6 separate regions of the Homo sapiens genome follow, and regions 2, 3, 4, 5 and 6 are each linked to region 1. Evidence: promoter capture Hi-C in 16 types of primary human blood cells and fetal thymus (Javierre and others, 2016). All regions are on one chromosome and are shown on one strand. The core of a region is centred on a gene start or on the middle of the fragment in contact, and the rest is flanking DNA. Distances in the headings are between cores, read along the strand shown. Region 1 holds the start of GAR1 (GAR1 ribonucleoprotein). Region 2 overlaps LARP7 (La ribonucleoprotein 7, transcriptional regulator). Region 3 holds the start of TIFA (TRAF interacting protein with forkhead associated domain). Region 4 holds the start of AP1AR (adaptor related protein complex 1 associated regulatory protein). Region 5 holds the start of FAM241A (family with sequence similarity 241 member A). Region 6 overlaps PAPSS1 (3'-phosphoadenosine 5'-phosphosulfate synthase 1).

Evidence for each region. The method cuts DNA at HindIII sites, captures the fragments that hold promoters and counts their contacts. A CHiCAGO score of 5 or more calls a contact.
Region 2: a contact is called between a fragment that was not itself captured here and the fragment with the promoter of GAR1 in region 1, in 1 of 17 cell types (total B cells). The highest score is 6.6, in total B cells.
Region 3: a contact is called between the fragment with the promoter of TIFA here and the fragment with the promoter of GAR1 in region 1, in 2 of 17 cell types (non-activated CD4 T cells and total B cells). The highest score is 6.2, in non-activated CD4 T cells.
Region 4: a contact is called between the fragment with the promoter of AP1AR here and the fragment with the promoter of GAR1 in region 1, in 1 of 17 cell types (total B cells). The highest score is 7.5, in total B cells.
Region 5: a fragment that was not itself captured here is called in contact with the fragment with the promoter of GAR1 in region 1 in 2 of 17 cell types (total B cells and naive B cells); the score reaches 5.7 in total B cells.
Region 6: a contact is called between a fragment that was not itself captured here and the fragment with the promoter of GAR1 in region 1, in 1 of 17 cell types (fetal thymus). The highest score is 6.3, in fetal thymus.

Annotation. Positions count from the first base shown.
Region 1 is chr4:109,813,951-109,817,746 of GRCh38, forward strand. It overlaps GAR1 (GAR1 ribonucleoprotein), which reads left to right and starts at 1,812. Exons shown (of 7, transcript NM_018983.4): 1 at 1,812-1,854; 2 at 2,203-2,428. The coding sequence starts at 2,215. GAR1-DT (GAR1 divergent transcript) reads right to left here and starts at 1,432. Exons shown (of 2, transcript NR_186620.1): 1 at 881-1,432. RefSeq lists enhancers at 1,188-1,287, 1,458-1,857, 1,868-1,917, 2,268-2,317, 2,488-2,557. The HindIII fragment of the contact is 3,017 bases long and covers 897-3,796 here.
Region 2 is chr4:112,642,433-112,646,228 of GRCh38, forward strand. LARP7 (La ribonucleoprotein 7, transcriptional regulator) reads left to right here. Exons shown (of 13, transcript NM_016648.4): 2 at 2,236-2,439. The coding sequence starts at 2,238. Among named protein-coding and RNA genes, the nearest start is that of MIR367, 3.6 kb to the right of the region's middle. RefSeq lists a silencer at 1,273-1,374. The HindIII fragment of the contact is 2,597 bases long and covers 365-2,961 here.
Region 3 is chr4:112,284,269-112,288,064 of GRCh38, forward strand. It overlaps TIFA (TRAF interacting protein with forkhead associated domain), which reads right to left and starts at 1,636. Exons shown (of 2, transcript NM_052864.3): 1 at 1,372-1,636. RefSeq lists enhancers at 409-588, 619-738, 3,248-3,367 and a silencer at 1,379-1,688. The HindIII fragment of the contact is 2,980 bases long and covers 201-3,180 here.
Region 4 is chr4:112,229,702-112,233,497 of GRCh38, forward strand. It overlaps AP1AR (adaptor related protein complex 1 associated regulatory protein), which reads left to right and starts at 2,086. Exons shown (of 10, transcript NM_018569.6): 1 at 2,086-2,473. The coding sequence starts at 2,391. It overlaps AP1AR-DT (AP1AR divergent transcript), which reads right to left and starts at 2,449. Exons shown (of 1, transcript NR_186684.1): 1 at 1-2,449. RefSeq lists enhancers at 1,859-2,806, 2,831-2,880 and silencers at 1,911-2,190, 2,351-2,620. The HindIII fragment of the contact is 11,290 bases long and covers 216-3,796 here.
Region 5 is chr4:112,144,706-112,148,501 of GRCh38, forward strand. It overlaps FAM241A (family with sequence similarity 241 member A), which reads left to right and starts at 749. Exons shown (of 2, transcript NM_152400.3): 1 at 749-1,028. The coding sequence starts at 876. RefSeq lists a silencer at 530-1,179 and an enhancer at 1,520-1,659. The HindIII fragment of the contact is 795 bases long and covers 1,609-2,403 here.
Region 6 is chr4:107,703,649-107,707,444 of GRCh38, forward strand. The region is part of intron 1 of PAPSS1 (3'-phosphoadenosine 5'-phosphosulfate synthase 1); the gene reads right to left. Among named protein-coding and RNA genes, the nearest start is that of PAPSS1, 15 kb to the right of the region's middle. RefSeq lists a silencer at 1,245-1,409. The HindIII fragment of the contact is 1,788 bases long and covers 787-2,574 here.

The DNA of each region.
Region 1 (3,796 bases), core at 562-3,061:
CTGGGATTACAGGCGTCAGCCACAGCACCTGGCCTGATCTGTGCTTCTACAAGTTTTGGATTTCTGAGAAAGAAGAGCAGCTTGACATTTTTAAGAAAGTAATAAACATTTTGACATACTTTAAAACTTCTTGTTCAAGCAAGCTTTTTCTCACTAAGTTTTAAGAGTAAAGACAAAAATCATCTCATTTCAGTTGAAAATGCAATCTGTGTGTGACAATCTCAAGTTCAATTCAGAATTGAGCAAATACACAGCAAAAGATAAGCAAAGGTTTCATACTAAATAGGTAATTTTCATTTTTTGTTTCAAAAATAATACACTTATATAGGCCCATAAAAAGACCAACATTCGTTAAAATCAAATTGCAGCATTTACTAAACTAAAAGAAAAAGAACAAGTAAAGTTTCCTCTCTCACTTATTTTGTTTTTTGTTTGTTTTGAGACCAAGCCTTGCTCTGTCGTCCAGGCTGGAGTGCAGTGGCGTGATCTCGGCTCACGGCAACCTCCGCCTCCCGGGTTCAAGCGATTCTCCTGCCTCAGCCTCCCGAGTAGCTGCGATTACAGGCGTGTGCCACCATGCCCGGCTGATTTTTGTATTTTTAGTAGAGAAGGGGTTTCACCGTATTGGCCAGGCTGGTCTCGAACTCCTGATCTCAAGTGATCCATCTGCCTTGGCCTCCCAAAGTGCTGGGATTACAGGCGTGAGCCACCACGCCCCGCCTACAAAGGTATTTTAAAATCCCATTTACAATAACCCTCTGAATTAGATAGGTACCAAGTTCCACCCTCTTCTAAACACGAGATCAAATATCAAGGTAAGGTCTCAGAGGGTTTGGGTGTAAAAGACTCCAACCAAATTTAATAAATGGGAAGTCATTACCTTTATTTGTGAGAGAAGCTTTGGAGAATGTGGGGGAAGCTGATGTCAAATATAAAGGGCTTAAAGAGAGAAGAGGGAGAGGAGCTTTCAGCACAGTCCAGTTCACAGCCCGTCGGTGCTCAAAACATACTTGAATACCTGGTACAAAAGATAAAAATGATGGTTTGGTTTTCTATAAGACAGCATAGTTTCTTTAAAATTACACACACACATGCATTGCTTTTCTTCCTTTAATTAGTTGAGACCATAGGACAAAAGAAGAGGCATAGTTGAGCGCGTAATGGTGCGAAAATCAAAAGGTTGGGAAGAAACAAGAAACTCAGATAAACGCTTCCGTCGGCTGTGACAGGTTCTGAGGCGCCCAGATCTACTGGACATAGCGCGGCTCAGAAGCCTCAGAGACCTGTCCGCACAGTTCCTGAAGTTAGCAACAAATTAGTGAGTGCTGTTGCGGGCCATTTTGCAGCCAGAGAAGCAAATGCGCAAATGCGCCCAGCCAGTCAGCACGGACTTCAAGAACCAACTTCATTCCTTGCAAGGTGCTTTAGTTCTGGCCGTTAGGGCGGCAACCAAACAGAAACCTGCCCCGCCTCTGGGAGAGAAGGCGGATCCCTAACGCCAGCTATCTCCAAGAGCAACATTGCCGCAGCACTTCCGGGACGTCGTGCTGCAAAGGACGCCGCTGTTATACGTCACTTCCACGGCTCAGCGTCAGGCAAGTTGGCCTCTCTGTTGTAAATTAGTGGTTAAGGTTATCTATTATTGCCACTTTTCCAGCGCTAAAGGCTGTTTTGGAACCAGTGTTGCTTGTTCCGCGGGTGATTGGCTTTTTTTTTTGGCAAACCAGTTATTCAAGTTTCTGGTCTTTAAAAAACTCTGTGGCGGTACGGTAACCGAGGAGGTTCCAGCGCGGCGGAAGTACCCCGCGGGTGGGTGTGTGCGCAAGGCCAGGGCCAGAGGGGCACGTGGCGCCGGTGAGTGGCCGTAGAAGCCGGAGGATTTGAAAATGCTGGACGTGGAACCCAACTGCCGGAGGGAGGGAGGAAGGAAGGGGATGCGGTGCGAAGACCTTGCTGTCTGTAGGGGGAGGAGATACTAATCATGGGGCGGCAAGGGTGGTGTGTGGTCGGTCGGCGCTCACGAGACCATGGAGAAGTAAACTCTTCACCCATCAGGTTGGTGGTCACTGGCTGTCTGACCGTGGGTGAGGTGACAGGGCTGCTTTTGTCTCCTTTATGGTGTTCTCACCGCAGCTCCGAGGGGTTGGAGTATACTCAGAGGCTACAGTGATCAGAAGACATAGGTCGTTTTTTTTTCATCAGGGAGGAGAGAGAATGTCTTTTCGAGGCGGAGGTCGTGGAGGCTTTAATCGAGGTGGTGGAGGTGGCGGCTTCAACCGAGGTGGCAGCAGCAACCACTTCCGAGGTGGAGGCGGCGGTGGAGGCGGCGGCAATTTCAGAGGCGGCGGCAGGGGAGGATTTGGACGAGGGGGTGGCCGCGGAGGCTTTAACAAAGGCCAAGACCAAGGACCTCCAGAACGTGTAGTCTGTATGCAGTCTTCAGTATTTAGCTTATTTGAAGGAGTAGGTGTGGGTTGGGGGTTTGTGTTGTTAGGCAGCAAGTTTGGGATACACAAGCCTGTGTGGAGAATGTAGCATGTAAGGGTGGAGTGGGGAGATCAAGAAAGCTGAGGGATACTTAGAATGCATCTTGGAGGTGGAACTTGAGGGTTGACAGGAAGATATTAAATAGGTAATCGTGAGTACTTATGCCTAATTCCCCGATTTTACAGATGAGAAAACTATGATTTAGAGTTAAGTTTTTTTGCTGGGGTCATAAGGTTAGTGATAAGTGATCAATTAGTGATATAGCTGAAATACAGGCTGGGTGCGGTGGCTCACGCCTGTAATCCCAACACTTTGGGAAGCTAAGACGGGAGGATCTTTTGAAGCCGGGAGTTAGAGACCAGCCTGGATAATAAAGCAGGAGACCCTGTCTGTACAGAAAAGAAAGAAATACAAAGCCAAGTATTCTGACTCCAAAGCCCATGCTTTCTGTTACTACTCAAAAGTAGATAAGTGAGAAAACAATTTGCTTGAGAGGGAAACTGCCAGAGAGGAAATCTAGAAAAACACCTATTTAGGGTAGTTTTAGAGTAATTAACAATGAGATGGGAATGGAAGTCACAGAAAGTGAAACTTACTACATTAAAGAGGAGAGAGGGTGAGTAGTGTCTAACTAAGAATGGCTTGGATGAGTATGCAGGATGGTTTGAAAGGAGCAGTTTCTAGAATAAAAGGTCCCAGCCCACAAGCTGTTGTACCAGTCCATACATGAGACCTTGAGAGCCTGAATCAGGATGGTGACAGTGAGGAAAAAAAAGGAAGGGTTAGATAGGAGAGAGATTTCAAAGGAAACAAAATCGGTAGAACTTAGCTAATGCTGATAATAAAGGGTTCCAGGTTTTGAGCTTGGGTGATAGGAATGAAGACTTGGTTTTGCAGGAATGTGGTATTTTAGTTTGGGGTGACAGTCTAGTTAGAAATAAAGGTAGTTATTTTGAGATTCCAGATGTCCTTGAAAACAATGAATCATTGTTAAAGAGGTGGTAGTGGGAATGGAAAAGTTCTAAGGCAAGAGAAAAAAAAAAAGAATGAAGGCTGATTCTGTTAGGCATTGAAGAAAAGGGAGAACCAAGAGAATGAAGCAGAGTTTTGAATCAGATAATAAGTTGTAATAACATAACTGTTACAGGTTGAATGGTGTCAGTGTGCCAGGCACTGTTCTAAGCACTTGACATTTGTTATTCCATTGAGTGCTTACATTACTGTATATTAGGTATAGCTATACATTATATGTTATTAGTGCATACTAAAAATGAGACACTGAATTAGAGAGAGGGTGGGTAACTTCTCC
Region 2 (3,796 bases), core at 413-2,912, 2.8 Mb after region 1:
GATGAGAATGCATGTTTAGTTGGAGATTTGAGGTGAAATGCATTAAGGGCTTTGTACCCTCTTACTGGATATCACTTTGAAACACATTATCTATTTCTGTTACTATCAGCAGCATCACTGTAGCAGTTAGAGATTCTAACCAGCAGTCAGACTCAAGAGATGCAAATACTGCTTACCAAAGAAGAGTCAAGGCAAAAGATAGGGTAGATGCAGCTTCTTCATCCCACCAGAGGCCACCAAGCCATTTACCCATATCTAGCAATTACCCAAATTCACTACTTTTTTCTCCCATTTACCCACAACAGGCATGTATGCCTTCCCTAGATAAGGACCATGGTGTATTTAGGACACTTTGACACGTGAAAGCTTTAACCTCTTTTGCCTATCAATCTGTTGTTCTGGTCACGTAGGCATAAGGCCTCCATGCCATCTAATAGCTGCTCCAAACCAGGTGCAACATGGGAAACAGATACAACACCCCCATTAGTCTCTCCAGTTTCCAAGAAGACTGTATTATAGGAGACTGAGGTTATTCTCAAGCAGCCTGTATTATCCCAGGCCTGATATTAATCCTTTGCTCCTATACCACTAGTGATTCAATTCATTCAACAAAATCGAGGCACAATTTATTCAACACATTTTTAAGTGACTGTATGGCAGGGACTGACAATATATCAGTAAACAAACAAAAATCTCTGATTTCATTGATCTTACCATCTAGGAAGGATAAACAACAAAGAAATAAATTGCATAGTGGTGATAGTAATGTTAGAAGATGATAAATGCTATGAACAAAAATAAGGCAGGGGAGTTACTGTGTATGTATCCAGAAATTTGCATTATTAAATATGATTGTGGGAGGGGACCGCACTGAGGTGACATTTAAATAAACACTTGAAGTAGGAGAGCAAGCTGTGTTATCTCTGGGGATATGTGTTTCAAAGAGAACAGGTTTAAAAGACCCCGTTAGACATTGCTGGGTGAGCTTCAAGAAGTGCAAGGACTGTATGGCTGGAGCTGACAAAGCAAAGGGGAAGAGATACTGAAAGTAACTTGAGGAAGGAGGGGGTTAGAAATTGCTGCCCAAGAAATAAACACTGGGATGAGAAGGCCACTTGAAAAGGCTGATTTATGGCTGGGCGCGGTGGCTCACACCTATAATCCCAGCACTTTGGGAGGCTGAGGCTGGCGAATCACCTGAGGTCAGGAGTTCGAGACCAGCCTGGCCAACATGGTGAAACTCTGTCTCTACTAAAAATACAAAAATTAGCCGGGTGTGATTGGCAGTGGTGCCTGTATTCCCAGCTACTTGGGAGGCTGAGGCAGGGAGAATCGCTTGAACCCAGGAGGCAGAGCTTGCAGTAAGCTGAGATCATGCCACTGCACTCCAGCCTGGGCAACAGAGGAAGACTGCCTCAAAGAAAAGAGAAGAGAAGAAGAAAGAGAAGAGAGAAGAGGCTGATTTCTACAGCTTACCAGTTGAATTCTGCCCCTAGAAAGCAGAAATTAACATTTTAAAAATCAAAATTGCCAGGCGCGGCGGCTCATGTCTGTAATCCTAGCACTTTGGGAGGCGGAGGCGGGCAGATCACCAGGACAGCAATTCAAGACAAACCTGGCAAACATGGTGAAACCCCGTCTCCTACTACAAATACAAAAATTAGCCGGGCATGATGGCATGTGCCTGTAGTCCCAGCTACTTGGGAGACTGAGGCAGGAGAATTGCTTGAACCCGGGAGATGGAGGTTGCAGTCAGCCAAGTTCACGCCACTGCACTCCAGCCTGCACAACAAAAGGGAAACTGTCTCCAAGAAAAAAAAAAAAAGCGAATACAACTTCTCTGGGGTGGGGCGGGGGCGGGGGGGTGTTGCGATGGAGAGGAGGGGGTGTTGCGATGGAGAGTGTCCACGTCCCTTAATCTTACACTTTTCACTTACTGACTTAAAAGTGCAGCTTAGTGAGATAAAGGTGTAATTTTTTATATTATTCTAGGATAATCTGGCCCTGTGTTTTAAAAGGTACAAAGAAACTAAAGCTATGATCCCTAACATAGAAGGTAAATTATTTTTAAATTTAATTTATTAAATATAAAAATGAATGTTCTTTCTGTTTGTCTTCTGATGGCCAAATGTGAGTCCATTATTCTCTCAGACAGTTAAAGGCTAATCTAAATATTTAACTATATTAGCTATTGTGGTGATTTAAATATTTACATCTTTTTCTTGTAATTCACAGGAATGGAAACTGAAAGTGGAAATCAGGAAAAGGTAATGGAAGAAGAAAGCACTGAAAAGAAAAAAGAAGTTGAAAAAAAGAAACGGTCACGAGTTAAACAGGTGCTTGCAGATATTGCTAAGCAAGTGGACTTCTGGTTTGGGGATGCAAATCTTCACAAGGATAGATTTCTTCGAGAACAGATAGAAAAATCTAGAGATGGATGTAAGTTTGCTTCAGTAAAGGAACCAATTTTTAGATATGGTTGCCTTTAAATTTACTTATAAAATAATATATTCTTTTTTTTTTTTTTTTTTTGAGTTGGAGTCTTGCTCTGTTGCCCAGGCTGGAGTGCAGTGGCATGATCTCAGCTCATTGCAACCTCTGCCTCCTGGGTTCAAGTGATTCTCCTGCCTCAGCCTCCCGAGTAGGTGGGACTACAGGCAAGCACCACCATGCCCGGCTAATTTTTGTATTTTCAGTAGAGATGGGATTTTACTGTGTTGGCCAGGCTGGTCTCGAACTCCTGACCTTGTGATCTGCCCACCTCAGCCTCCCAAAATGCTGGGATTACAGGCGTGAGCCACTACACCCAGCCTAAAATAGTATATTCTATAATGTGTATATTCGTTTCTGTAAGTGTGTTCCGTGTAATCTGTTCTAATTTTTATTTAGTGAATGACAATCTTCTAAATAAAGACTGTTGGTAACAGTTTAGGCTATATTAAATAAGCAATTTCAAATCAAAGCTTTTAAGTATTTTGGGATTTAATTGCTTCAATAACCATTCATCATGTGTAACTCGAGAGTGCTATACTTTAGTTCATACAAGAAGGCATTTCACCTAGCTCAATGTTATTTTTTGTTTCATTTTTTTGAGGCAAGGTCTATCTTTTTTCCCTAGGCAGGAATGCACTGGCTCCATGTCTGCTCACTCCAACTTCTGCCCCCACCTCCACCCCCTCAGCCCCACCCAAGCGATCCTCCATCAGCCTCCCCAGTAGCTGAGAACACAGGCAAGCATCACCAGGCCGGCTTTTTTTTCTGGCATTTTTAAGAGATATGGGGTCCCACCATGTTGCCCAGGCTGGTCTTGAGCTCCTGAGCTCAAGAGATTTACCTTCACCCCTGAATTGCTGAGATAAGAAGCATTGAGCCACCATCCCCAGTTGCTAAATTTCAAATAGCCAACCTTGTGCTTGTTTCTAATAGGATGGGATCCAGATGTCCTCTTTGAATGTCTGGGTATTGCTAATAATTTGTGTTCAAATCTTAATCTGCAGTTACATACACTAAAATGTGTCATTTTAGGTCGCCAAATATGCAATGCCATTTAGACCCTCATACAGTTTTTTTTTGTTTGTTTTGTTTGAGTCTCTTTCTCCCAGGCTGGAGTGATCTCAGCTCACTGCAACCTCTGCCTCCTGGGTTCAAGCGATTCTCCTACCTCACTCTCGAGTAGCTGGGATTACAGGCGTGCACCACTACACCCAGCTAATTCTTTGTATTTTTAGTAGAGATGGGGTTTCACTATGTTGGCCAGGCTGGTCTTGAACTCCCCCATCCACCCGCCTTGGCCTCC
Region 3 (3,796 bases), core at 386-2,885, 2.5 Mb after region 1:
CTGCTACCCTCCCTGCAACACAACACACACACACACACACACACACGTACACACACACTCACTAAGGTCCTGCAAAGCCCGTGAAGAGACATACCACCTCTCCTTGCCAAAGGGTGTTCGGCCTTAAAATGCCATAAACAAAAACATATACAGAAATATTTTCGCTACAAGGACCCAGATGTCTAAGCAGTTTAACAGAAAGCTTGGCACCCCTGGGTGGTCATGCATGCCAACCAGATTTCTCATGCTTTAAGAAGTCTATTTTTTAAAACAGGATTGACCAAACTAATGGGGTCTGCTCTGGATGGTGAAAATGTTTACTTTCATTTCCCCCCAACCCCCTCGCCTCCCCAGTTCCCCCTGAATATATTCTCAAGAAAGAGTATGTCTTTGGGTGGTTGCAAGTAGGAAGTTTCAAGGCTTTTCTCCCTAACGAATACCGAACACTGAGCACACAGGAGGGGAACAGAAACTTGGAAGCAGAGCAAAGGACCAAGTTATCCTCCTGTCTAACCCTGCTCAACAGGATCACCCTGAAGTGTGGCTCTGAAGATATTTGTGAACTCTGGCACAGCTGTTTGGCAGAATTAATACTAAAACCACAGGTCTTGCAAAAACAAAGAATCAAAAAAAAAAAAAAAAAGTGAAAACCAAACAGCAGGAGGAAACCCTTAGGAAAGCTCGGTGTCTTTCAGACATGAGATTTTCTTTCTCCCACTCTACTTGACTGGCCTGACCTGGGGTCCAGTCCCACTTCCTGGTGGCTGCGGAAATCCGCAGTGAGGCTCAGTGTGGATTTTGGCTTCAGAGGATTTGGGAAATTCCACCTTTCAATCTGAAATCTGGGGAAAGTCCCAGAAAACAACGGATTACTATATTTCTCTCATGAACCAGACTGAAGCAAGGAGTCAGGTCTAGGACCAAGGACCTCGGCACTCCAGGGAGCCCAGGGCCCCTCAGAAAGGTCTCGCTTGGCCACCGAGAGCGTGGGGCCGTAGCAGTTGGCAAGCGGGGGAGGGGGGTCACGCACAACTGCTCTGGAGCCACACTGCATAAATGGCATTCGTTTTTGTTTTCTGATTAGAAAAACGTTGAAAAGAATACCAAAGTACAGAGAAAACACACCCCCATCTCCAATGTTTCCTCATTTATGTAAATATTCTCATATTTTATAAAACAGGGAGGTGCTGTCTATAATTTTTGCAGGCTTTCCTTAGCATATGGTGAGCGTGTGCCAGGTGAGCAGGAGCAGCGGGGGATGACTTCCGATCCGACACCCCCAAAATCTCCTGGACAAAGCTGCTGTCTTTGCGGGATAAACAGAAAAGGGCCAGTCCCCACCTCACCCCCAGCCCGCCGCCCCGCAAGTACCTGGGGCTGGGGAGTCAGTGAACTCTCTTCAGCTGTTCGGCTCTCCCGGCTCAGAGCGAGGGGAATCGAGGAGACTGGGCGCAGGATGGGGGTGGACACCCGGCCGCTGCTCCTCCGCGCGGGTAAGTGTGAGCCCCGGGGTGCGGGGAACCGAGCCAGGGACCAGTGACCGCGAGCCGCCGATCCTCCCGCGCTCCCGCGCGCGCGGCCTGCCTTCCCACTGGCTGGCAGAGCACGTCCTCTCGCGCCCGGGGCCTTTGTAAAGAGCGCAGCGGTGGCGCGGAGGTTTTCAGGCTCCGCCCGCTCCACTCGCGCTCCCGCCCCTTCCTTCCTCTCGAGGTGACCCGGCAGCTGGCGCCTTTCTCACCAGGTACCCAGCCCCCTGGCCGCCTCTCTCAGTTCTCTGGCAGGGTTTGGTGCGCGGTACACCGACCCGGACCGCGCCTTCCCAAACGAGTGGCCTCTCCTCCAGCCCGATTGGCGAGCTAGAGAAAAGAAGGGAACTGGATCACTTCAGCATTAAGGAGGACTTTTCCCCAAAATGAGTGTTGCCCCAGGGCGTGGGCAGGCGGGGAGCTGAACTAATCTTTCGGTGACTCCAAGGATACCAAGCAAGCCAGTGCGTGGCATGCACGAGCTCCTCTAATCATCGCAGTCCCCCTTACACATGAGTAAACCGAGGCTCAGAGAATGGTGGAGTGTGGCGAGCAGAAGTGGAATTTTTTTTTTCTTTTTTTCTTTTTTTGAGACGAGTCTCACCGTGTCGCCCATGCTGGAGTGCAGTGGCGCCATCTCGGCTCACTGCAACCTCTGCCTCCCGCAGAGGCGGGATTTGAACTTGCTCCAGGTTGCCCTCGCCTTACACCCAGCAGAGCAGTCCAGTCGCTTTCTCTCCTGCCGCTTGCATCGTAATGGACATCCAGAGTCCACAAGTAAAAGCTGGTACATGATGAAATGGGAAACACCTCTCAGGAGTCCTTTATAGCTTAGAAGAAGGTAATGCTACCTTTCTGCCTCAGTGAAAAGATTTGGAATCACCTAAGTGTGAAGAACCTAAGGAGAGTAGGTGTCAAGAGAGGATAGACCCGGGTGCCGTGGCTCAAACCTGTAATCCCAGCACTTTGGGAGGCCGAGGTGGGCGGATCACGAGGCCAGGAGTTTGAGACCAGCCTGGCCAACATGACGAAATTCCATCTCTACTAAAAATACAAAAGTTAGTTGGGCTTGGTGGTGGGTGCCTGTAATCCCAACTACTCGGGAGGCTGAGGCAGGAGAATCACTTGAATCCGGGAGGCAGAGGTTGCAGTGAGGCCGGGATGGCGCCATTGCACGCCAGTCTGGGCAACAGAGTGAGACTCTGTTTAAAGAAAAAGAGAGAGAGAGGATAGACACTGTAGAGACCAGCAATCCCTGTTGGGAACCAGTGTCATGGAAGACTTTTTCCACAGACTGGGGTTGGGGCCACGGGAGATGGTTTCAGGATGATTCAAGCCCATTTCATTTATTGTGCACTTTATTTCTATTATTATTGCATTGTAATATATAATGAGATAATTATACAACTCACCATAATGTCGAATCAGTGGAAGTCCTGAGCTTGTTTTCATGCAACTAGACGGACACATTTGGGGGTGATGGGAGACAGTGACAGATCATCAGGCATTAGATTCTCATAAGAAGCGGGCAACCTAGATCCCTCCCATGTGCAGGGTTCCTGCTCCTATAAGAATCTAATGCCCCAGTGATCTGACAGGAAACAGAGCTCAGGCAGTAACACAGGTGACGGTTAGCAGCTGTAAATACAGATGAAGCTTCGCTTGCTGGCCCTGAGCACACCTCCTGCTTTGCCGCTGGGTTCCTAACAGTCCATGGACCACTGCCAGTCCATGGCCCAGAGGTTGGGGACCCTTGCCATAGAAGGAGAAAGAAGACTGAGGATAGATAGAGGAAGGAGGACAAAACTTGGCTTGGCTGAGATCACAGCGGCCTACTTCTTCGCATGGGAAACCAAATTCTGATGATGGAAATGAGTGGAAGCCCCTTGTCTGTCTTCTGTCCTTGAGTTCAGGAGAGTTGCTTGTTTGTGGATCAGTTTCACTGGCAATAAAATGACACTGATGTCCACCTGATAAAGAGGTGCTATGGGTGCGGTTAAGTTTTGAACTGTGTCAGAGCTAGGTATAATCAAGTACAGTGACTGTGGGGAAAGAAGGGTACATTTACAAGTGAGGCAGATTCCCGTAAGGGCTGCAATTTTGTTAATCATCAACATTTATTATTTCTTCTCTAGAAGTGACAGTCAGGGTACCTTCTCTCAGCTGATGAACATGAGAGCAGGTGGAAGATAAGACGTGCTATCTGATTATGTCAGTGAACTCATACAGTAGAACAGTATTATCAGAATTGGAGTTTCCAATCTCTAATT
Region 4 (3,796 bases), core at 836-3,335, 2.4 Mb after region 1:
ATTTTTCCATATTGTTTTAAAAAATATATTTATTATGTCTATATAACAAGAATACACCAGCAAATTTAATCATCCTTCAATTTTTGAGCATTTAGTTTGTTTCTGGCTCTTGGTATTTCCAAATAATTTCTCAGAATGAGTTTCATTATCTGCAGCAGTTTAGAATAGTACCATTTCATTGTATCCTTGCAAATACTGAATATTTCTAACTGTAAAGCTTTGTTAACTTGACAAGTGAATCAATACAAATGACTAAAACATGCATTTTAATTTGCATTATTTTGCTTAGTGAAGTTTTTAAATGTCTTATTCATTTGTATTGCTTCTGAGGATCATTCATATCCTTAACTGAGAGAACAGATTTACTATAAAAAAATTATTTTTAAGTGAGATTCAGTTTTAATAACGGTTTATAGAATGTCTATAGGAAGTGCTGTCAAGTCTATAGCTGCATTTTTTTAATCAAACTTTTTATATTGAGACAATTGTGTCACATGCAGTTTTAAGAAATAATATACAGATGACCGTGTATATCTTTAATCTAGTTTCCCCCAGTGGTGACATGTTACAAAACTATTGCAATATCACAACCAGAATACTGACATTAATATAGACAAGATGCAGGATTTCCATTCCCTGACCCATGGCAATCAATTATTCTGTTGTCCACTTACATAAATTTATCAATTCTGAGATGTTACATAATGGAATTACACAGTATATAAGCATTTGAGATTGGCTTTTTCTTTAACCATAATTTCCTACAGATTCATTTCAGGGTGTGTTCATCAATACTGTGTTCCTATTTGTTACTAAATATTCCATAGGATAGATGTACCAGTTTCTGTAAACATTTATAGTTGAATTTTAATGATTATTTCATTAATACATTTGTCTAATTTCAGGGGTTGGAAGGAGAAAAGAAAATGCTTTCACTAGGAAGTCATTCGGTCATCCCAACATTCACTGAAAGCAAACCATTGGGACAAATGTTATCCTATGCTTCTGATTACAAAACAACTAAAACCCAAATAAAATAAACATTAGTAAGTAGCAGTGCTAAGATTGAAACCAGATACGTATTTAAAGAAGCAAGAAAATGAGTTCAGAGAACATTTTATCATCAATAAAAACTTTCTAAAATGTAACAATTTTTCTAGGTTTAATTAAACAGGCTAAAAACTTGATGTGTCCAGTCCATGAGAGCATCCTCCTATCCACTGGACGAGGTGTCTACTAAACCACATCTTATATCTATTGTGAGGCCAACTGTCTTGAGGCCAAACAAGACGCGAATTATATGGTAGCACTTGAGAGGGCTGCGGACACATTAGAGCAGCTTTCTCTTCCCATCTACAGCAGTTCTGGGCAGCATGCTTGGAATGGCAACGCTGACGTCCCCGAAAAACCCCAGCCCTCTTGCCAATTTCCTCTGAACCCCAACTACCCAACCCAAAATTATGTGAAGATCTGATTTTCAAACAAAACGAGGACAATAATGCACCATTATTACGTTTCCCTAAAACATTAACAGTATGGAAATTAAGACACAAACCAGAGACCGGAAAAAAATCTTGGTGCGTTCAAAGTAACCTCAATCAGTTCCCGAGTCTATTTTCCGCTTATGGTGCAGTATTAACAAAAACTAAGCACACCGTGCAGAGAAACGCCCCTTCGCACTTATGACTTCCGGCCTGGGACTCTGGCTCCTCACACGCCTTTGATACAAAGTTCGAAGGCTGAGCCTTAGCCATGCCACGCCCAGCGTGCTCCGGACGAGGATGCCCGAAACTGCAATGAGAGAGGGAAATTTCCTAGTCAGGTCAAGGTCCAACAAAACAAACGTCCGCACGCAGGAATTGAACCGTCTCGCAGGCAGAGGCGGCTGAACCAGGAGCGAGCGGAAGTGACGCACAGGCCGGTCGCCAGAGAAGGCGGGGCACCGAGGTAGCGCGCCCAATTGGGGCGCGGGAGAGGCCGGGGGTGTGGCAGCGTTGGCGGCGAGCAGGGGCCTGGGCGCGCTGGGGGCGGGGCCAGGGTGCTCGGCTCGCGGGGACTGGCCTCCTTCGGCAGCTGGAGGCGGTCACTCACGCTGGGCTAGGAGCTGAGGCGAGAAGGGCCATGCGGACGGCGAGGGAGTCCAGAGCCTTGAGCCCGGTGCTCCTCCCTCGCGCAGCGGTGGCTCTGCGGCCGCTGGAGTAAACACTGCCTTTGTTCCCTAGCGCCTCGTCTTTCGTCGCCCCGTGCCCTCACGCCGCCGGGCTCTGGCCGGCCCGCCCTCGGTCCTTGAACCCCATTTCGGCTCGTGCCGTGCGGATGCAGCTGCCGGGCCTGGGTTTGGGCATTGAGCGGGAGGAGGAGGAGGAGCGGCGGCGCCTGGGCGGCATGCGATGGGGAACTGCTGCTGGACGCAGTGCTTCGGACTGCTTCGCAAGGAAGCGGGGCGGCTGCAGCGAGTAGGCGGCGGCGGAGGGTAAGCCCGCTGGGGGAGGGGCCCGGCCCCCGTGGCTCCTCCTCTTCGGCCCCCGGCGGGGAATCCCTTTCACCGTCCCCCGGCGGCTGGAGGTGGCGGTCGAGAGCCCTGCTACACTCACTGCTTAGCAGACGTCAGACTGGTGGTCGTCTTGGAGGCCCAGTCTGGGGTCCGGTCTTGGGGCCTCCTCGGAAAGAGGTAGAAGAGGGGGCGGGGTGTCCCTCCTGCCAGGGCGCCCTGTCACGCGGGGAAGGAGTCACGGGAGACATCATCTCCAGGAAACAAGGGGTAGCTTCGCGCTAATGGGCTGTAGGACCGGCTCCACGGCAACCTGGACACACCCTGCGCTGAGCTTAGGTTTAACGCCAAAGCTAGTATCCCTGTATCTGACCCTCTCTTTAGCCCTGGCAGAGCAGGTGGGATCTGGCTCCGGAGTTAATGCCTCAGATTGATTTTAAGTAGAAGTCATTTGGATGCTGGAGTAAAATAAGGTTCCAGATACTGATGAACTCTGGTAGCTACAAAGACTTGCTGAATTGCAGAGTTCCCAATGGGCATTCAGATTCTTGGTGCTCATAACTACAGGGACAATGTGTAATTTTTTCGTATTAAGTTTTTGAAATTTCGAGAGGAATTCCTTGCCCTGATTGCTACTCAAACGTCCTGTAACATTAGGTAAATTGCAGTCCTTCTGAACTTCACTTCTCTTGAGTAAACCTGGGATATTGCTTAGGTTTTGTATATGCACCATCCACAGAATAGTAATTTCATAATTCCGTTTTTGTGTTTTTTTATTTCATATATATTGAAAAAATTAGAGCAAATTCCTTTGGGGTTGGCTTTGTTGTTATTAAATGTCCCTCCGGAATTCAAACCTAGAATTGAAAATCTGAACCAAGCCAGTTTGTGTAAGGACTAAGACTGTTTTGCACTTTCTGAAACAGATTGCTAATTTTTCATAATCTGTTCCATTTAACTAACATTATTGGGTAATAAGATGTTCAACATAAATAAATTGCAGTAAATGATCATAATTTGAATCTTTGGTAATGGAGATCTTATAAAATATAGGATTCTCATTCATTAATTAGGCATTGTGTCACCTCTCTGATACAAAATAGCTAAGGTTTTACACTAAGTATCCCTAGAATGGAAGGGCAAGGATTTGCAGTTTGTGCCTAGTGTAATATTTCGATTTCCCTAATTTATGAGTTATTACTCTTGAGTGGGACATGACAGTTGTTTTATCTTGTCATCCAGGATCATCTGGTTTAAGTATTTATAATTTTTGTGTGTGAATGAAACTTACAAGGTCAAGCTGCT
Region 5 (3,796 bases), core at 756-3,255, 2.3 Mb after region 1:
TCAGTTTCTGTTGTTCCCTCATACAATCTCTCTCTCACAGTCTCTTGCATACACATACAATCTCAATCTCTCTCTCTCTCTCTCTCTCTCTCTCTTTCCCCCCCCCCTCCTCTCTCTCTCTCTCTCTCTCTCTGAAACGGGGTCTGGTTCTGTCGCCCACGCTGGAGTGCAGTGGTGTGATCTCTGCTCACTGCAGCCTCGACTTCCCGCGCTGAGACGATCCTCCCACCTCAGCCTCCTGAGTAGCTGGGACCACACTGCCGCCACCACGCCCGCCTAATTCTATTTTTAGTAGAGATGGGGTTGCCCAGGCTGGTCTCCAACTCCTGGGCTCAAGCTATCTGCCCGCCTCGGCCTCCCAAAGTGCATACAATCTCTTATACGCAGTTTCTTTTATATAGAATCTCTCTCACACACACACACAAATCACGCTCAGCGTCTCTCTCACACTCTCTAACGGTCTCTTACGCACACACAATATCCCTCATACATACACACAGCCTCTCTCATGTACAATCTCCCTCATGCAGTGTATGTCCATAGTTTTTCACACAACACCCTTCTTCTCTCAGTCTGTCGGCCTCTCTCTCAATCTCACACACACACCCCCGCCCCCCAACACACCGTTGGCCCCGCCCCCTGTCTTGGCCCCTCCCCTGTACGGCTCCGCCCCGACGGCCGGGGGTTGGGCGAGCCAGTGACAGGAGGGGCCGGGCTGGTACTTCAGGCGCCCAGGCCGGCGGGGCGCGCTCCGGCGGCTCCTGTCAGCGGCGGGTGCGGCGGATCCCAGGGCAGCCTTCGGGCGGCGGCGCTGCCTGGTGCGTCGCGGCGTGGTCCTCCGGCGGCTGTCCGGGGCGGTAGGAGTTGGCTGCGGGATGTGCTCAGCCGGGGAGCTGCTGCGGGGCGGCGACGGCGGGGAACGCGACGAGGACGGGGACGCGCTGGCGGAGCGGGAGGCGGCAGGGACCGGGTGGGATCCCGGGGCGAGCCCGCGGCGGCGCGGACAGCGGCCGAAGGAGAGCGAGCAGGTGAGCGCGGGGAGGGGCGGCGGCGAAGCGGCCGGGTCGGGGGCCGCGAGCCCCGCCCGGCGTTGGAGGGAAGGGGCCCGGCCCGCGGGCCGCGCCGCAGCTCTGCCCCGCGTGGGCACTGGCTCCCCGGCGCTCTGGGAAGTCGTCGCCGGGAGCGGTTAGACGGCGCTCCCAGGAGGAGCGGCGGGGTCGCGCGAGTGCAGACGCCAGCGCCGGCCCCGGGGTCGCGTGTCTGGCGGGGTCAGCGTGGTTCGTCCCCTGGCGTCCGGCAGAGGATTCTCAGGCTGGCGCCCAGGGCTCGGAGGAAATGCCCTCCATAGCGGTGATTTATTTAAAAGCCTCACTTGTAAACACTTCTTTTTCAACTTCGAGTCCGTGCCCTGCGCCAGGTTTAGGAGACGCCGGCTCCCCTCCCGCCCTCCATCTTGCGTTTCCGAGCCCACACCTAGCGTGTCTGGAAGGTGTGGGTGGATTCCGTCCACGGGCAGCGCTGAAAGCATGAGTAGGAGCGGGTGTTACAATGAATGTCTTGACAGGGACTCTCCCAGAGCACGTTCTTCATAAATACAGATGAGATCAAAGCTTCAGTTAAAAAGTGGAGAGGCAAGAATATTGCTTTCGGTTATAAGAGGCCAGCCATAGTAAGGGAAAAGAGAAGTTGCGTAATTTTTTAAACTCTCTGAGTTTATCTCATTTAAATAAAGTGTGATAATGGGCATTATAACATCAAATATCTTAAAGATTAGGCAAAAGGTTTAATTTTAAAAATTGAATTGTATGTTGGATGAATTTTCTACAGCAAATACAGTATTTAGACTTTCCAAATACCTGAGGTAAGCCGCTCTTTAGACTCACATTAAGGAGCAGGAATTCAAATGATTATTGGCCTTTATTACAGCCTGTACTGTTAGGACAATTAATACCTGTCTCTCCTCATCTTTCTTCATCTGTCCTTTCTGTCACGTTTCACAAATTCCAGTATCATCACTAAATGCATTAATAGATGTATACCTTACATTGTTTCAATAGGTTACTTAGGAAACAGAGTAATACTGTGTGGCACACAAAATATGCCTTAGCGTTAGGTTTGATCACCACGTGGAGTGTAATTTTTCATCTGTGACAATATAAGAGAAAGTGACTCAAGCAAATAATTTGGTAGCTTGTTCTTCGGATTCCCTTCCTAGTGGTTTTTCCCGTTAACTATTCATTTGCTCAAGGGCTTGATTTCCTCTAACTTAAATTGCTTAACTGGAAAAGTGAAGAAGACAGCACAAGAATTCCTTTGGGGGTGGGGAGGGGTTGCATTTGAGCAGGGGTTTCCAAAGTAAATTTTCAAATAGTTGTAAGGGAGCATATAAAAATACTTCATTTAAGCTTCTGTGTACTTCATTAGTATGATTATGTAGACATCACTAATAGTTGTGGTCTTTCCAAAATTGCTTATGGTACAAAGTAAAAGGATAAAACAAAAAATGAAAAGTACATCTTAGAAAACATATCACTTTGCATACCTGCCTCCTTCATTGAATGTCATGAAAGTTCATTCTCCTGTACTCCTTTGAAGTGTTATTTTTATCATTCTGTTTTTGCCTCAAGATTTATTAATGTATTCTAAGCCCCCATACACAATAATTGAAAATCACACCGGAGATAGGCATTTCCTACTACATTAGCACCAAAGAAGAATTAGTCAAGAAGACAAAAATAAGCAAAAAATTGGTGCAACCCAACCCATTGTTGTAAAAAGCAAGCTTTTCTGATAAAACGTTTCTTGGTAATGTTATCACAAAGCCTTGTTTTCTAGTTTTTTTCAAGTTCTGTAAATGAAATTATGCATTGCCATGTAATGATGGTAGAAATAGTATTACATGTGTAAAGATATTTGAGGAAGAAATGAAATTAACAACTATGGAACATATCCCAAGGACTCATTTTATTTAGTTTTTATTTAGGGAGATGATTTTTGTTTGTCCTGTTGGTTGGTTTAAGGATACAAGGACTCCAGATTACAAATGGAATATTTTTGAAAGATTGGTTTCTAAGTTAATGATTTAGAACTTAAGGTGAACTTTTCCATGAAAACAATGATATAAACAGGAACAGAACCAAAACTAATTAGCTGGAAATGAGACAGAGGCCATCTTCCTGCCGTCTTTTCTACTTGGCACGCTCACTTCGTGTTCCGGAGTCATGGATAGCCTCATGGGTATTGAGAGGAAATTAGAGGCAGGAGCTAGCAGAGGCGCTCCTTTTAACCCAGAAAAGAGCTATGGTTGTATGCTCTTGAACACCATAGCTCCAGAGGCACCTGACTTGTGCTCCTCTAGCTCTTTCAATGATTTTGTCAACACCTAATTTTCTGTATTAAGTCCCTTTCTATTTCTATTCCCCTCACAGAGTTTGCCCTTTCCTAATAATTTGATGGAGGTTTCTTTCTTGGGCTATTTCTCAAGCTAAATCCTCGTCCACATACATCCCTTCCTTCACTGATTTTTCTTTCCACTTCTGTCTGAAAGGTTCATTCCTTTTCCTCAACCTGGAAAGCTCTTTCATCAGCTTGTTATTACAATACCAGAACAAAATGTATCTTTATTTTGTTACTTATTTCATATATATATGAAATATATAAAACACCTAGTATTAACATAGGTGTTTTATTACTAGTTAAGATATTGTCTGCATCATTTTTAACAATTTGTCTTTAGATGCTACTCCATTTGAGCAAAAAATGAAGGTTCTTCTGTCATTCTGGCCTGAGTCTTTCC
Region 6 (3,796 bases), core at 431-2,930, 2.1 Mb before region 1:
AAAAATCAATTAAATATAAATGCATGTATTTATATCTGGGCTTTCTGCTCTGTTGTATGGTTTATATGTTTGTTTCTGTATCATGCTGTTTTGATTACTATAGCTTCAGAGTGTGTTTTAAAGTTACGTAATGTTAATACCTCCCGCTTTGTTATCTTTGCTCAAGATTGCTTTGGTTATCTGGGGTCTTTTGTGGTTCCATACAAATTTTAGAACTGCTTTTTCTATTTCTGTGAAGAATCCTTGGAATTTTTATAGGGATTGCATTGAATCTGTAGATCACTTTAAGTAGTATGGACATTTTAACAATATTAATTCTTTCAATCCATGAATACATACAATGTTTCCTTTTATTTCTGTCTTCAATTTTTTTCATCAATGTTTCACAGTTTTCAGTATACAGGTCTCTTACTTCCTTGGTTAAATGTATTCCCAAGTATTTTATTTTTCTGGTAGCAACTATAAATGAGATTGTTTTCTTATTTCTTTTACAGGTACTTCAATGTTAGAATATAAAAACACTACTACTTTTCTAATGTTGAGTTTGTATTCTGCAACTTTACTAAATTTATTTATTCTAACAGTCTTCTGGTGAAATCTTTAGGGTTTTCCATATTATTTAAAACCACGTCATCTGCAAACAGGAACAATTTAACTTCTACTTTTCCAATTTGGATGCCTTTTATTTATTTCTCGTCTAAGTGCTCTGTCTAGGACCTCCAGTACTATGCTGAATAGAAGTGGTAAGAGTGGGCACCCTTGTTGTGCTCCTGATCTTAGAGGGAAAGCTTTCAACTTTTCCTGTTTTACCATTGAGTATGATGTCAGTTGTGGGCTTGAACTATGTAGCCCTTATTACGTTGAAGTACATTCCTTCTTTTCCTAATTTGTTGAGAGTTTTTATCATAAAAGGTTAATGAACTCTTTCAAATAATTTTTCTGCATCTATTGAGATGATCATAGGTTTTTTGCCCTACATTCTGTTAGTGTGGTGCATCACCTTTATTAATTTGCATATGTTAGCTGGGCATGGTGGCTCACACCACTAATCCCAGCACTTCAGAGGCCGAGGCAGGCGGATCACCTGAGGTCAGGGGTTTGAGACCAGCCAGGCCAATGTGGAGAAACCCCGTCTCTACTAAAAATACAAAAATTAGCCGGGAATGGTGGCATGCACCTGTAGTCCCAGCTACTCAGAAGGCTGAGGCAGGAGAATTGCTTGAACCCAGGAGGCGGAGGTTGCAGTGAGCCAAGATCATGCCATTGCACTCGAGCCTGGGTGACAAGAGCAAAACTCCACCTCAAAAAAAAAAAGAAAAAATTGCCTATGTTGAACCATCTTTGCATCCCTGAAATAAATCCCACTTGATAAGGAGGAATGATCCTTTAATGTGCTATATAATTCAGTTTGCTACTATGTGTTCAGGATTTTCGCATCTATGTTCATCAGGGACACTGGCCTGTGATTTTCTTTTCTTCTAGTGTCCTTTTGTGGCTTTGGTATCAAGGTAATGCTGGCCTCATAAAATAAATTTGGAAGTATTCCCTCTTTAATTTTTTGGAAGAGTTTGAGAAAAAATCGTGATATGGTTTGGCTATGTGTCCCCACACAAATCTCATCTCGAACTGTAATCTCCATGTGTGGAGGGAGCGACATGGTAGGAGGTGATCAGATCATGGGGGTGCTTTCACCCATGCTGCTCTCGTGATAGTGAGTTCTCACAAGATTTGATAGTTCCAAAGTGTGGCACTTCCCCCCTTGTTCTCTCTCTCCTGCCACCATGTAAGATGTGCCCTGCTTCCTCTTCACCTTCCGCCATGATTATAAGTTTCCTGGGGCGTCCCCAGTCATGCAGAACTGTCAGTCAATTAAACCTCTTTTCTTTATAGTTTACCTGGTCTTAGAGAGTTCTTTATACCAGTGTGAAAACGAACTAATACAGACTGGCATTAATCTTTCTTTAAATGTTTGGTAGAACTCAACAGTGAAGACATCCCTTAACAAATTATTGTCACTATTGTTAATTGTCTTTTAACATTCATACCGGAGATATAAATTATTGTCACACGACAATTACAGTATTTATTCTGAACTTGACCGTGGACTTACTTTTACCAGTGAGTTTTATACTTTCATGTTACTAATTAGCATCCTTTTATTTCAGCTTGGAGAACTCCCTTTAGTGTTTCTTTTAAGACATGTCTGGTAGTGATGAACTCCCTTAGCTTTGTCTAGGCAAGTCTGTATGTTTGTGTTTGTGAATTACAGCATTGTTGAATACAGTATTCTTTGTTGGCAGGGTTTTTTTCCTTCAACACTTTGAACATGTCAACCCAGTCTCTCCTGGACTACAAAATTTCTGCTGAAAAGTCTGCTGCTAGCATTTTTGGAACTCCCTTGTATGTGATTTGCTTTTCTCTAGCTGCTTTCAGAATCCTCTTTTATTTTTGACAGTTTAACTATATGTCTTGAGGTAGTCTTGTTTGGATTGAATCTGATTAGAACTTTTGATCTTCCTGTACTTATTTATACCTTTCCCCAGATTTGGAAAGTTTTCTGTTGTTATTTAAATAAGCTTTGTAACCCTCTTTCTCTTCTCCTTGAACTCCTATACCTCAATTTTTGTACTTTTGATGCTGTCCTATAAATCCTGTAAGCTTTCTCCATTACTTTTCATTCTTCTTTTTCCTCCTCTAACTATGGAAGAAATCTGTCTTCAAGTACAATTATTTTGCTTGATCAGTGCTTCTATGGATGCTCTCTATTGCATTTTTCATTTTATTCATTAAATTTTTCAGCTCTAGAATTTTTTATTTTTTTAATAATTTCAATCTGTTAAATTTCTCATGTTGGTCATTTGTTGTTTTCCAGAATACACTGAATTATTTCTATTTTATTGAGGTTTGCTGGGCTTCCTTAAACAATTATTTTTTAATTCTTTTTCAGGCAGTTCATGTATCTCCATTTCTTTTGAATCAGCTACTGGAAGGTTATTTTGATACTTTTGGTAGTATTAAGTCTCCTTGTTTTTTCACATTTCTTGTTGTCTTATATCAATATCTGTACAATGAAGAGGTAGGGACTGATTCCAGTCTTTGTAGACTGGCTTTATTTGGGAAGCACTTCACCAGTCAGCCTGTCCAATCTGGGAAGGCCATCTGGCATGGTGCACAGGCAGGCTTGCTGCTGGAGTCCTCAGGGAGGCTGGCCTGGTATCTGGGTCAGCAGGTAGGCAGAGCTCAGCTGGTGCTGGAGCGGATGTGGAAGCCTAGGTCTACAGTGGTTGGTCTGAAGCCTACCTAGAATCACAGGACCTGCCCTGAAGCCATGGGAGCTGACCTAGATGCTCAGCATATGGGTGCTGGCCTGGAACCTGGGTCCACAGAAATGGTCTTACAGCCTGGGTCAATGGGAGCTGGTATAGTGCTGAGATGTATTGGGATGGTCCTGAAACCTTGGATCTCTTAAGTATGGGGTTGCAGCAGCCAGCCTGGAGGGTGGGGCTACAGGGAATGGCCTTGTACTGGGGCAGACCTGAAGCCCAGGGCTGTGTGGGCCAACCTGGCTCTCAGCTGGTCTGAAACCTGGAGAGGGCCTGAAGCTGGGACAGCTTGAAGCCTGTATCCACAGGTGCCTGCCTGTGACAGCCAGCCTGGTACTAAAGGTAGCTCTAAGCCCAGGGCCACTGGGGCCAGCCTGGCCCTAAGACAAGTCTAAAACTTGCATCAATTGGGTCTGGCCTGGTGGTGGAGGTTGGAGGAGCTGGAACCTTGGGCTGCAGAATCCTGCTTAGTA